Regions from separate parts of the Homo sapiens genome. Here region 1 is linked to region 2. Evidence: promoter capture Hi-C in 16 types of primary human blood cells and fetal thymus (Javierre and others, 2016). All regions are on one chromosome and are shown on one strand. The core of a region is centred on a gene start or on the middle of the fragment in contact, and the rest is flanking DNA. Distances in the headings are between cores, read along the strand shown.

Evidence for each region. Contacts are between HindIII fragments. The CHiCAGO score rates a contact against its expected background, and 5 or more counts as called.
Region 1: a fragment that was not itself captured here is called in contact with the fragment with the promoter of PGRMC2 in region 2 in 1 of 17 cell types (total B cells); the score reaches 7.7 in total B cells.

What each region holds. Positions count from the first base shown.
Region 1 is chr4:122,728,266-122,734,134 of GRCh38, forward strand. BBS12 (Bardet-Biedl syndrome 12) reads left to right here and starts at 4,439. Exons shown (of 2, transcript NM_152618.3): 1 at 4,439-4,619. It also overlaps the pseudogene CETN4P. RefSeq lists a silencer at 4,109-4,328 and an enhancer at 4,689-4,898. The HindIII fragment of the contact is 227 bases long and covers 3,466-3,692 here.
Region 2 is chr4:128,283,219-128,289,177 of GRCh38, forward strand. PGRMC2 (progesterone receptor membrane component 2) reads right to left here and starts at 4,595. Exons shown (of 3, transcript NM_006320.6): 1 at 4,155-4,595. The coding sequence starts at 4,572. RefSeq lists silencers at 4,235-4,294, 4,475-4,524, 4,535-4,714, 5,035-5,224, 5,596-5,890. The HindIII fragment of the contact is 4,970 bases long and covers 3,051-5,959 here.

The sequences.
Region 1 (5,869 bases), core at 2,329-4,828, 5.6 Mb before region 2:
TCAAATATAATAATTGATATAATGAATTATATGGCCATTCCATTCCATTAGAATGGAATATTATACAGATATTTTATTTGTATTGTTATGCAACTATTTCTCAAGTTATGTAACTATTTCTCAAATATATACACAATGTGTATAATATGCTATCATTTGTGAAAAAACTATTCTGTATACATATGTATATGAATATGCATTCTCTGTAATGATTCATTAAAAAGTGGCAAAAATCTTTGTCTTTAGGAAGAACTGGGGCTTGGATAGGAAGGAGACTTTTATTCAGAACTTTTGGAACTTGTTCATGTATACTTTTAACCATTTGAAGGCTAACATTTTCACATATGAAGCACATTTAATAGGCAAGTTTTTCCCTGGTCTAGAAGAAATGTTACATAATTAGAAATCAAAGACACTGTGAAAACACTTGAGAATGCTCATGAGCACATACAATTCTAGTTTCAATCAAATAAAACCTCTTGTGTTGACAAGACAAAATTAAAACCTTCAGTTTTCATTTCAGTTGTGCTAAAAATGAACCAGGTAGTGTCACTATAGTTAATTTTCTATGAGTCTTTCTTGCTCCAAAGACAACTTGGTTATCAGAAAGTGTTTGTGTGGAGCAAGTGGCATCTGTTGCCTATTTGTCAGGAGCAGAAGTCTGAGCACTTCTGTCCACTGCATCTTGTTTCAAAGTCGCCAAGGAAAACAATGCAGTGAAACACTGGGTGGAACACACATTACTCACATACAGAAGAGACAGAGCAAGATCAGCTTCCCTAGTGGACTTCAGTCTCCCATGACCAGAGGGTCCCTCTTGGCAGCTGACACAGGGCAGGTGGCCTGCAAACACTCCTCTTGTGCTGAAGGACCCCCATCCCCTCCCCCACAGGAGACAGAGCAGTGGGGTTGGTCAGATGCCATATGATGCACACACTTAAGCAGGGCAAAGGACTACACATTGACTCTGAAACAGAGGAAGATATTACTATACGGGGTGGTAAGTTCAGCACAGGCTCTGTGGACTCCTAGTCTCTTCAAAAGAAGTGTTCCAGGCCCAAGGCCCACTCTCAAACAACTGAGTAGGAGTTAAAAGACTGTATGTATGAGATTCCGTTTCCCAACAGTTTGGCTCTTTCACAAGGAAGAAATCACAAGAGTCACAGAATTGAAAATGAGTTAGAAAATACACAGTTATCTTGAAAGTTTTATCCATAGGGAAGCAGCATAATGAAGAATAAGAACTTAAGATTTGGAATCCATGTTTTATTTCTTATCAATGGGCAACTGGGGAATTTTTAAAACTTCTCTGAACTTTAGTTTTCTTGTATGTAAAATGGAGCTAATACAATCAGCTTCCAACTTGTAATATGTTTACTGAGGTTAACACATAAAATCTCGGCCAGGCACGGTGGCTCACCCCTGTAATCCCAGCAGTTTGGGAGGCTGAGGTAGGCAGATCATGAGGTCAGGAGATTGAGACCATCATGGCTAACACAGTGAAACTCCGTCTCTACTAAAAATGCAAAAAATTAGCTAGGCATGGTGGCAGGTACCTGTAGTCCCAGCTACTCGGGAGGCTGAGGCAGGAGAATCTCTTGAGCCCAGGAGGCAGAGGTTGCATTGAGCCGAGATCGCACCACTGCACTCCAGCCTGGGTGACAGAGGGAGATTTTGTCTCAAAAAATATATAAATAAAATTTTTTAAAAATAAAACTCTACACCACCTGTCCTAGCACAGAGGTATTAAGTGCTCACTATAGAGTCAAACTTACAGGGAAATATGGGTGATGTAAGTGCTATTTTGAATTTTCTTTATAACTAAAAGAAGAAAATTAGCAAATAATGTTTCCAGACAGTTCTATTTAATACTTTATGTATTTGAGTAACTGACTAAAAAGCAAATGTTCATCAGGTTTTTTTGGGTTGCACAAAAGGAAAATATAAGTTTTGTTTGCCAAATTCATTTGGATGTGAAGCCAACTTCATCAAACTTTAAAATTCTAAGTCTTTGTGACCTAAGGTTCTCAAAAGAGCAGCTAGAATCAATACTGTTCTTGGATTAATGGCTCAAAGAAGTCATTATGTTTTGTTTCTTGATGCTGTAGATTTAACATCATATTGGTAGAGATGTGTAACTTCTTACATGGATTAGACATCAAGAAGCCAATGTGTACATATAAACTAAAAACTGAAAATGAATACATTCAGATATTAAATTATAAAACTGCATAACAAATACAAATTTGTTAATTTTCCACAAGGACTAAAACAACGCTATTAATAACGAGTAGTCTTTTTCATCACTCTCAAAACATCTTCCTCGTTTATTTCTCCATCTCTATCATGATCAGCTTCATCAAGCATTTCCTGTAAAACAAAATGTAAATATATGAAATACATTTAAAATGACATAAATGAAGTCAAACACATATTCAAAACCAAATTTTATTTTAAATGCATAAGTGCAACTAAAGTTAGAATTATAATCCTAAATTATCACATAAGTTATAATTACATATAAATTATAATTATAAAAATAAGCAAAATCTACCTGAAGTTCATCATGTTAAATTTTCCCCTGGTTTCTTAGCAAACCTCTTGATACCGGTTAGTATTATACTTCCAGTATCATCATCATCAAATAATTTGAAAGTCTTCAATATTTCTTCTTTTTCATCTTTTTTACTCTTTTAAAAAAGAAGCAACTATCCAGTCTTTCATTTATTTATTTTATCAAGCTGGACTTAATTAGATCTTTGGGGTCTAAAGCAGCAATGTGCCAAGTAGCTGTGTTCTGATTTTATTTATTGGTCTTTTAACAATTATGTACTCACACCTGCCCTCAAGGTGCTTAAAGGTAGAGCTTGCTAAGGTGGAGAAGGCACAGGGTGGTCCAGAATGCATCTCTTATTAAACCTCATAATTCAGATCCGTTACCAAAAATGTAAGCTTCAAAATGGAAGGTTGTATCTTTCAATGCTCCTTAGAATAGTGCCTGGCAAAAATAGGCATTCAATATATGTTGCTGAATTAAAGGCTTCCAAATTCTGGCCCCATTCTCTCTATCCTGCAATATAGCCTCATTATTTCCTGACAAAAACCTCTTCTCCACATCATAGTCTTCTCATTACTACCCTGAAAACATATTTAATCTTGCTCTTCCTATCTCCCATCCTTAAAAACCTAGTTCTAATTGCTTCTCTATAAAACTTCTGATTGCTCCAGCCCTAAAATGTAGCAGGTTATTGCTAGTATTTCTTTGAAAAATAAAATCATAACTATATCATTTTTATACTCATAATGGCAAAAAAAAATCTTCAAAACTAATGGTGCCAATTCCTTCTTTATCAACTTCAGCTACCATTTTTTAAATTTCTTCTTTCTTTGGTTCAAATCCTAAGGCCCACACTGCAATCTGAAATAGGAAGAAAAGGAATTATAATATGCCATGATTTCTTTCTAAGCTTTTTAACTCCCTATTAAGAGCTTCTCTCTTTTCTATTATGGACTGAGCATAAACAGAAAATTAGGTCAGCAGGCCTGTGTTTCAGTCCTACTGTGCCATCATGTACATCACTGTTACACCCTGGGCTTTTGCCTACTCATTTATAAAACACAATTAAAATGCTTAACAAGATATCGTTTTGCTAATGCAGGGCAGGCATATGCACTGAAGAGACTTTATATTAAGCTTTCAGAAGACTACTTTTAAAGAAAGCCTTAAAGATTGCCACAAATAATATGGTTTTTAAAATGATTTAGAATTAGAAATAATTTCAGAACCTTCTTTTACATCGATGGTTCCAGACCCATCAATATCAAATAAATTAAAGGCGTCTTTAATTTCTTGCTTTTGGGATTCATTCAGTTCAATTTTTGCTGCTCTTTTCTTCCATTGGTCTGAACTTGTATGGTAGTTAGATGCCTGTAATACACACACATATGGGTGAAAGATAAATTATATAACTGGAATAGTTAGCAGAACCAGAATAATTGATGATAAACTATATTAAAGTACCTATTTCCTACTATAAAATGAATCTCAACAGGAGTAAGGAAGGAGTGCAGTTGCTGCCAGGGGCAGCCTTCCTTGCTCTGGCGGAAAAACTTCGGCCCCGGCCCCAGCAGAAGGTTACAGCTTCACACTCACCAGGTCCCCAGCCGGCAGCCGGCGCTCTCAGCCGGGACCTCCCGGCGTCACCTCCCGCAGCCCCGCCCAACCCAAGTCTTCACAGCTCACTGGCGGTTGCTAAGGCCGCTCTCACCGACCTCTCTCAGCCCCGCCCACCCAGCCTGAGTTATTGACATCCAGTTCATCCAATGGACAGAAAAAAAGGCCTTTAAACCAGCCCTTTCTCTCTACTCCCTACCAATAGCGTGACGTCCCCGCCTTTCGCAGCCCGGCGTTAAGCGGAACTTCTCTCTCCAGCTGTGTCTCTTAGCAACTAAGCCCCCGGCTCCTCCAGAAGCCCCTCTTCGCACATGCGCAAACTGCGGACGGGGAACTGGGCTCCCTAGCCCTGGCGTTTTTGGTGTTGCTGTCCCAGCCAGAATCGCGTCTGGCCGGTGGGAAGCCGGGAACTCCAGCCCCCTGTAGGAGAGGAGAAAGGAGCGAGGTTAGTAGTGAGGTGCTTCCGCTGACTGCTAAGCTAAGTCTTTCCTGAAGACGTGGGAGCCCGTGTGTTTGATTTTTCTGTCCTCTTCGGGCCAGGGAAAGAATGAGAATCTAGGGCCTGGAGGTCCTGGGGTGAATTGGTCCAGCATGTGGCTAGGAGTACTAGAGGAAGAGGGGACTGCCCTTTCTTTTTGCCGCTAGACTTTCCTCATTTTCTACAGTGCCTGGAGCTGGGCCTTCAGCCATTTACCTCCTCCCTGTTTTGGGCAGGGATTCTGGCATGGTAGACACCAGAATTCTGTATAGCAGTGGCATGGGGTAACAGTGTCGTTGGAGGGACGTGGGTATTGGGATAAGCATGGGTCTTGGGATGTATTTAAAGCTTCACTACATACATAGATAAACGTTTTTACATGTTTCGTGTAGCATTTGTTTACGAGGTAGGACTTTGGCCCCACCCATAATTACTATCGGACCCCGCCCTCCAACCCCAACACACACACACACACACACACACACACACACACACACACACACACACATCCAGCCATTTCCTTGGCCCAGTCCTAAGATTTGGCCAGTTGTCAACGATATCAACTTGATCTGCACTTCAGAGTCAGACACAGGTAGTCTGATTATCCAGTTGATTCAGTAACGGCCTAGATTTAGATACTTGTGAAACTTTTGTAAACCAACTCAATCTCTTGTCCAGAGGGCCAGATTTACTGCTTCTGCCCGTTCTGAATTTGGCCAGGAATCAGCTTAAAGGACAGGGGAGAAAGACTGAGGTAGGATGGACCACTGACTTCCTGGTGGGAATGAAGGAATGAGAGAATCTTAAAACTTCTAACCTTTAATTGCTCACACATGCGGACCCCTTTTATGCCTCCTACAATGTCTTCTCTAGAGGAAATATTTTCTAAAAATTATACTGGATTCTTCAAAAATGGATTCAGGAAGAATACTAACTTTAGTCTTTTTTTTTTTTTTTTTTTTTTTGTCTCACTTATCTTCCTGAAGGCAGGAGAGGAAAACAAGTGCAAAGTGCATTCTTGAAGCACTCTGTCAAATCACTTTTCATGCTTCATTGAGTAGAAACATGGCACATTTTCCAAAGCCATCAGCCTGTCTTGTTCATATTATATCCCAGACAGACACGCAAGTATTGTAATCATTGATAAAAATCTCATTAGGCTTCTGGAAAATAGGTAAGTTTATCCTCATATTGCAGGTGATTTTTCCATATAAAGT
Region 2 (5,959 bases), core at 3,345-5,844:
ACTATGTTGTAATACAATGGGAAGGATTGAAGCTATGAAAATCTGGATTTAATTTTTAGTGTTGCCACCTACTAGATATGTGGCTTTGGGCAATCTCATAGGGCTGTTTGAAAATTAGCGATACTAAGCTCAATAAATGGAGTTTCCTCCTTCTCCTCCTCTGACCTTTAGAATCAGTGTTGTTTTCAACAACTCTCTGGGAAGACAGAAATACTCTAAGAGGTGCCTTGTTAGTGCAGTAGGTGGCACGCCAGTCTCACAATATGAAAATATACAAAGTGCACTGTCCAAAATGGTAGCCATGGTGGGCTCAGCACTTTATATGTGGCTAGTGTTACTAAGGAACTCAATTTTTAATTATATCTAATTTTAATTAATTTACTTTTAATTAGCCACCTGGGGCCACCATTTTGGGCAGTATAACATAAAGCCATAAAAGCATTTTTTTTTTTTTTTTGAGACAGAGTCTCGTTCTGTCATCCAGGCTGGAGTGCAATGGCGAGATCTCAGCTCACTGCAACCTCCACCTCCTAGGTTCAAGTGATTCTCTTGCCTCAGCCTCCCCAGTAGCTGGGATTACAGGCACCCACCATCAAGCTCAGCTAATTTTTTTTTGTATTTTTGTAGAAACAGGGTTTGGCCATGTTGGCCAGGCTGGTCCCGAACTCCTGACCTCAGGTGATCTGCCCGCCTTGGTCTCTCAAAGTGCTGGGATTAAGGCATGAGCCACCGTGCCTGGCCTTTATTTTTTTATTTTTATTTTTTTTTTTTTAGTAGAGATGGGGTTTCACCATGTTGGACAGTCTGGTCTCAAACTCCTGACCTCAAGTGATCCGCTTGCCTCAGCCTCCCAAAGTGCTGGGATTACACGCGTGAGCCACCGTGCCTGGCCGAAAGGCATGTTTTTTTTGAGGCTTTAAATCCTTGGATTTATGGGAACCAGGGAAGAGTATAAAGAAAAACAACAGTAAGATTCTCTACAAGTTTATCACAGGATGCAGTTTACTAGAAATAGTATAGATAAGCTGTGTGGTAATATCCATCTGGATTTATTAGACATACATGTAATCCAAGCCAATTTACCTAAAATACCTAGACCTCAGACTCCCCACCTGTAGAGCAGGAATACTTACCAACTTCACTGAGGAATTATGGAGATAAAAAAATTAATGGATCTGATATTGTGGGTGCTTAACGAATCTGGTTTTCTTTCTCCTCCTGTATTCAGTTTTTTACATGACCAAACTTTCCTCACCTGCTGGCCAAGTGCCTGATCTGTTACTAAATTTAATATTGGCAAATACAGTTAATGCCAACTGTTTGCCAAAATGTGTATACTCCACCAAATTACACTGTCAATATTTAATTAAGAGCCTGAACTTTAAAAATGTATGACTAAAAATAAACACATGTTTAGCATTATGGAAAAATCTCACAAAATTTAATCCTAAAACCATTATTGTGAAATTAGGGTAGATATTGGCTAGGCATAGAAACTAACAATTACTGCTTCTGAATTATTCTGCTACAAAACTGCTTAATTTATGAGGATGAAAATAAAAATTAAAAGCAAAACTGAACTTGTATCTGTTTTATAGCCAGAAATTTGGCTTTAAGATTTTTTGAAAAGTACTACTTATTACATTTTCTATTAATATGCAATATCAACATATTCTAAGCCCATAAAATGATCTGGCTTTCTTTAAGGTTCCTTTCAATAATAAAATATTCAAATATCTGTTATGTTGTTGATCAACTGTAGAATACTAACTGTATATCACTCTTAGGCTGTTCAACAGAACCTAGGAACTGGCAGAAACTAATCTAAAACTGACTTCTCCATTGTAATCTCAAGAGCCTCCCTCAGTGCACATACCATAAAAAAGCAATCTACCACCTATGACTCTTAATTTTTAATTTTTTTTTATACCGAGTCTCTCTCTGTCGCCCAGGCTGGAGTGCAATGGCGCAATCTCGGCTCACTGCAACCCCCACCTCCCGGGTTCCAGCAACTCTCCCTGCCTCCGCCTCCCGAGTAGCTGGGATTACAGGCACCCGCCACCACGTCTAGCTGATTTTCTTGTATTTTTAGTAGAGACGAGGTTTTGTTATATTGGCCAGGCTGGTTTCGAACTCCTGACCTCTGGTGATCCACCCGCCTCGGCCTCCCAAAGCACTGGGATTACAGGCATGAACCACCACGCCTGGCTTTAATTTTTAATTTCTATCACAGAACAAACGTTTGCCACTGGAGGCTGCCAAACTGTTTCTATGACTGTCTCTCTTAGCTATTTTCAGATACTGCCAAGGCATAATGTGTGAGGACTAATACGATTCTTTGTACTAATACTTTGTTTTCTTCAGTGGCAGTTCAGACAGGGTACAAAAGCTGATCTTTTAGCTGGGTAAGGTCTATATTAAAAATTTAAACCTGTACAGGATTTCTAATCACTTAACACATTTTAATACCAATGGGGGAAAAGCTTGAACTAGGTATAAAATGCTGTCTAAATCCTTGATTTAAAAAAAATTTACTTCGCTTGGCCTGTTTAAATACTGTACTTTGGCCCTGTTCTCTTGTCCCACGTGTGCTTAAGTAAACAAAAATGTATTAACCATTTCAGTTGATATAAGTAGGCAGACACCTTGTGTTCACATTTATGTAACCAGAAGCAAAAACTCTGTAAGCTATGTATTTACTTGGTTGGATTAAATGTGTATATATACACAGAAGTACAAACAACTAAGAAATAAATTACATAATTCAACACCAAAAATCTCCTATTTCTTATCCCTATTCCAATGAACAAACTACAAACCAAAGCACTTCTAAAATATCTTCCAGCTATCAAGCACTGAAATCAGAAGTATATATTTTTAAGTGTCAATAAATCTTATACACCTACAGATTAAATTAAGGAGAAAACCAGCTTACTTCCAGACTGCCAACCCTATGACTTTAAGGCTTGGAGGTACTCTCTCCAATAACAGGTCACTTTAGGTCTCTAATTTAATTATTTATTCTTATTGTAGTCACCACTTTTTTTTAAAGCTTAGTATTAATCAGTGCACAACCAGGATGCACAATGTTGCTCAACTGTATGATATACCAACAGGTTCCATGAGTCTGGGGTTTATTAACATAATCCAAAATGTATGCTACAACCACACTGTAAAAAAAGGGCGTCTAAATCAACTACCCTACACAAAGTTCCCTGAAAACAAAGTTCTCTCAAAACAAAGTTCTAAAAATCTTTAACTTGCATAACTGGCACATGGGGGTATAAATCTACAACTCTTCTAAGTTTTTTCTCCTTAGTTCTGCTAAGTGAAAACACAAGTCATTATCAACGTGTACTTGAAAAGAGAAAAAAAAAGAAAAAAGAAACCAGAGACACGCCTGCTGGGTATAGGAGCTCCACCCCCAAAACTCAAGGTGAATATCCTTACCAGTCTTTAATAAGCTCTGCATTCTGGTCTGTTCTCATCCCACATACCTTGTTAATCATGGAAAGCAACTCCGAACTAAAACTGGTTTAAAGAGAGTCCGAGGTGTTGCTTATACGTCTGGACTTCAGAGACTGGAGGGTTGGGACTTTACATGCCCCTAAACGTGGCCTTACGGAGTAATACAGCGAGGGAAAAAAGGAGATCAGTGGCAAAAAAAAAAAAAAAGGGGGCAAGGAAAAGAAAACGGTGAATTACAGAGCCCAAAACTTTAGTTTAGGTCCCAACTTCAGAAATCTCCCTTCCCTGGTGCCCCATCCATCCCAGGAATCAGGAGACTCAAAAAAGGTTAAGGGCCAGCGTTGACCTGTGACAACTAAAACGATTTTGAAAAATCCAGCCAAAGAAACAAAAAAAAAAGGCTGCGAGGAGAAATGGGATGGAAGAAAGATGAATGCTGAGAGCTGGTCTCTGGGGCGCCACCGGGGACCCTGGTTTCGGGGGAAGAACTGGAGGTGCCCGTAGCTGCGGGGGGACGGTGTGTGTGTAGGGGCGGGATGGGCCGTCCCAGGTGCGGCGGCCGAGGCGCGGGGGTCCCGGAGACGAGAAGGCTGGGCAAACTAACCCGGTGCCCAGAGGCCTCCCTGTCCGAAGGGGGTTGTGCTTCAGCTGCAGGGGGTCCTTCCCCTCCCCTTCCAACTCCTCACCCGGGCCGTAGAACTTGCTGCCTTTGGTCACGTCGAAGACTTTCCCATTGACCGCGAGCAGGATGCGCGGGTTGCGGGAGCCGTCGTACTGGCGCAGCTGCTCCAAGCTGAAGTCCCGCTTCTTCATGCGAGGCAGAGAGGTGGCGGGGCTCTCCTCGCCCGCCCCGGCCCCGGCCCCCAGACCCCGCCGCCCCCAGCGCACCCACAGCCGGTAGGCCCCCAGCAGCACCAGAGCCACCAGCGCCACGTTCAGCAGCATTTCCCCGCCCCCCGTCAGAAGCGCCAACGCCGCCGCCGCCCAGCCTCCCCCTTCCGCTGCCGCTCCCGCGTCGCCTGGACTCTCGCTGCCGCCGTCGTTGCTGCTCTCGCTGCCACTCCCCAGGGTGCCTAGCTTCACGTCCCCATCACCAGCCGCCATCACTGCCCGCCAGCGCCTTCCTCCTCCTCCCCGCCCCCTGCCCTCCCCAACCCCACGGCCGGCCCCGCCCATCTGGGGGCCTCTCAGCCAATAACGTGAGAAGAGGGGGCGGGGTCAGGCCGGCTCCTGATTGGGTGTTGACGGGGTAACGTTGTCTCGGATCTCCCGCCCCCTCCCTTCTTTCGCTGGCCGCGCACGCGTGCAACGCCCCGCCCACCTCGCCCCACACTTCCCTGCTCTCACTCCAAGCCTCCGCTAGGTTAAGTAGACGAGCCGGGCGGGTCTGAAGAAAAGATGCTACGACGGCCGCGCGGACGCTCATGGGCGGGGCGAGACCACAGCGCGTGCGCGGGCTCCTGAGCGCCACGCGCTCGCCTTTCGTTCGTAACCCCTGCGGGAGGCACGCCCCGCCCAGTCTCCAGGCTCTGCGCGTGCGCCCTGGAATCGCTTCCCTTCCTAGGCCTGCGTTCGCGTCCGCAAACTCCCGCCTCCTTGCGCTCCCCCCGCCCGGGAGCTTCACGTGCGCCTTGGCGGCCGCGGGGGCAGGTCCGGGCTGGACGCCTGGCGGAGGACGCGGGCAGGTGGCTTGTGGGAGGCTGGGGCATAGTTGAGCTGCAAGGCGCAAACCGATGAGGGGCGTCTGCTTTTCACCAGGGCGCCGTCGCTTTTGTCGGGAAACCGGCAGCGTAGGCGCGCAGACCGGGAAGCGGCAAGAAGATTTGGCCACGAGCTGGGGTCTTCCTGGAACGGAGAGAAAGCACGGAACCCGCACCGGGCTTCTCTGGCATCGGCAGTCTACGTGCTCCTCGCGCTGGCACCGAGCAGCCACTCCCCGCTGGGTTTGGCAAAGGCTGCTCTTGTAGAATTTTAAAGGATTTAGAGTCTCATTATTCCTTGAATCATAACTTCTGCGGCCGTAGGGAAGTGGACAGGTTGAGGTGGTCTTTCTATTCGTCATTCACTCTTATTTGCAGGTTCTGTTTCATGTACTTGGACGTCTTTTAGCCTCTCACACCTTGAAATTCTAGTGTGAAAAAGTGACCTCTGAAGTCTCACGCACTCAACTCGTTTGACGAACTCGTTTGACGTGTTCTCTCTTGCCCTTTGTTGTCTGTTGTCTTGAGTCTCATAGAATAGGTTTGAACCTTTCACTGTCGGTTTTGTAGGAGTCACTGAGGATATTGACGAGGCAAGTGACAGGGTCGACACTCTTGTAGAGAGGCTGTATAGCAACCAGGTGTCTGAAGGATTAGAGGCTGGGGAAAGAGTGGGAAAGCAGTTAGTAGGCTAGGGTATTTGTGCGTGAGGTGAGGAGACTCAGAGCTAGGGGAGACATTAGAGCAGGGGTTGGCAAACATTTTTTGTAAAGGGCCCGATCATATTTTAA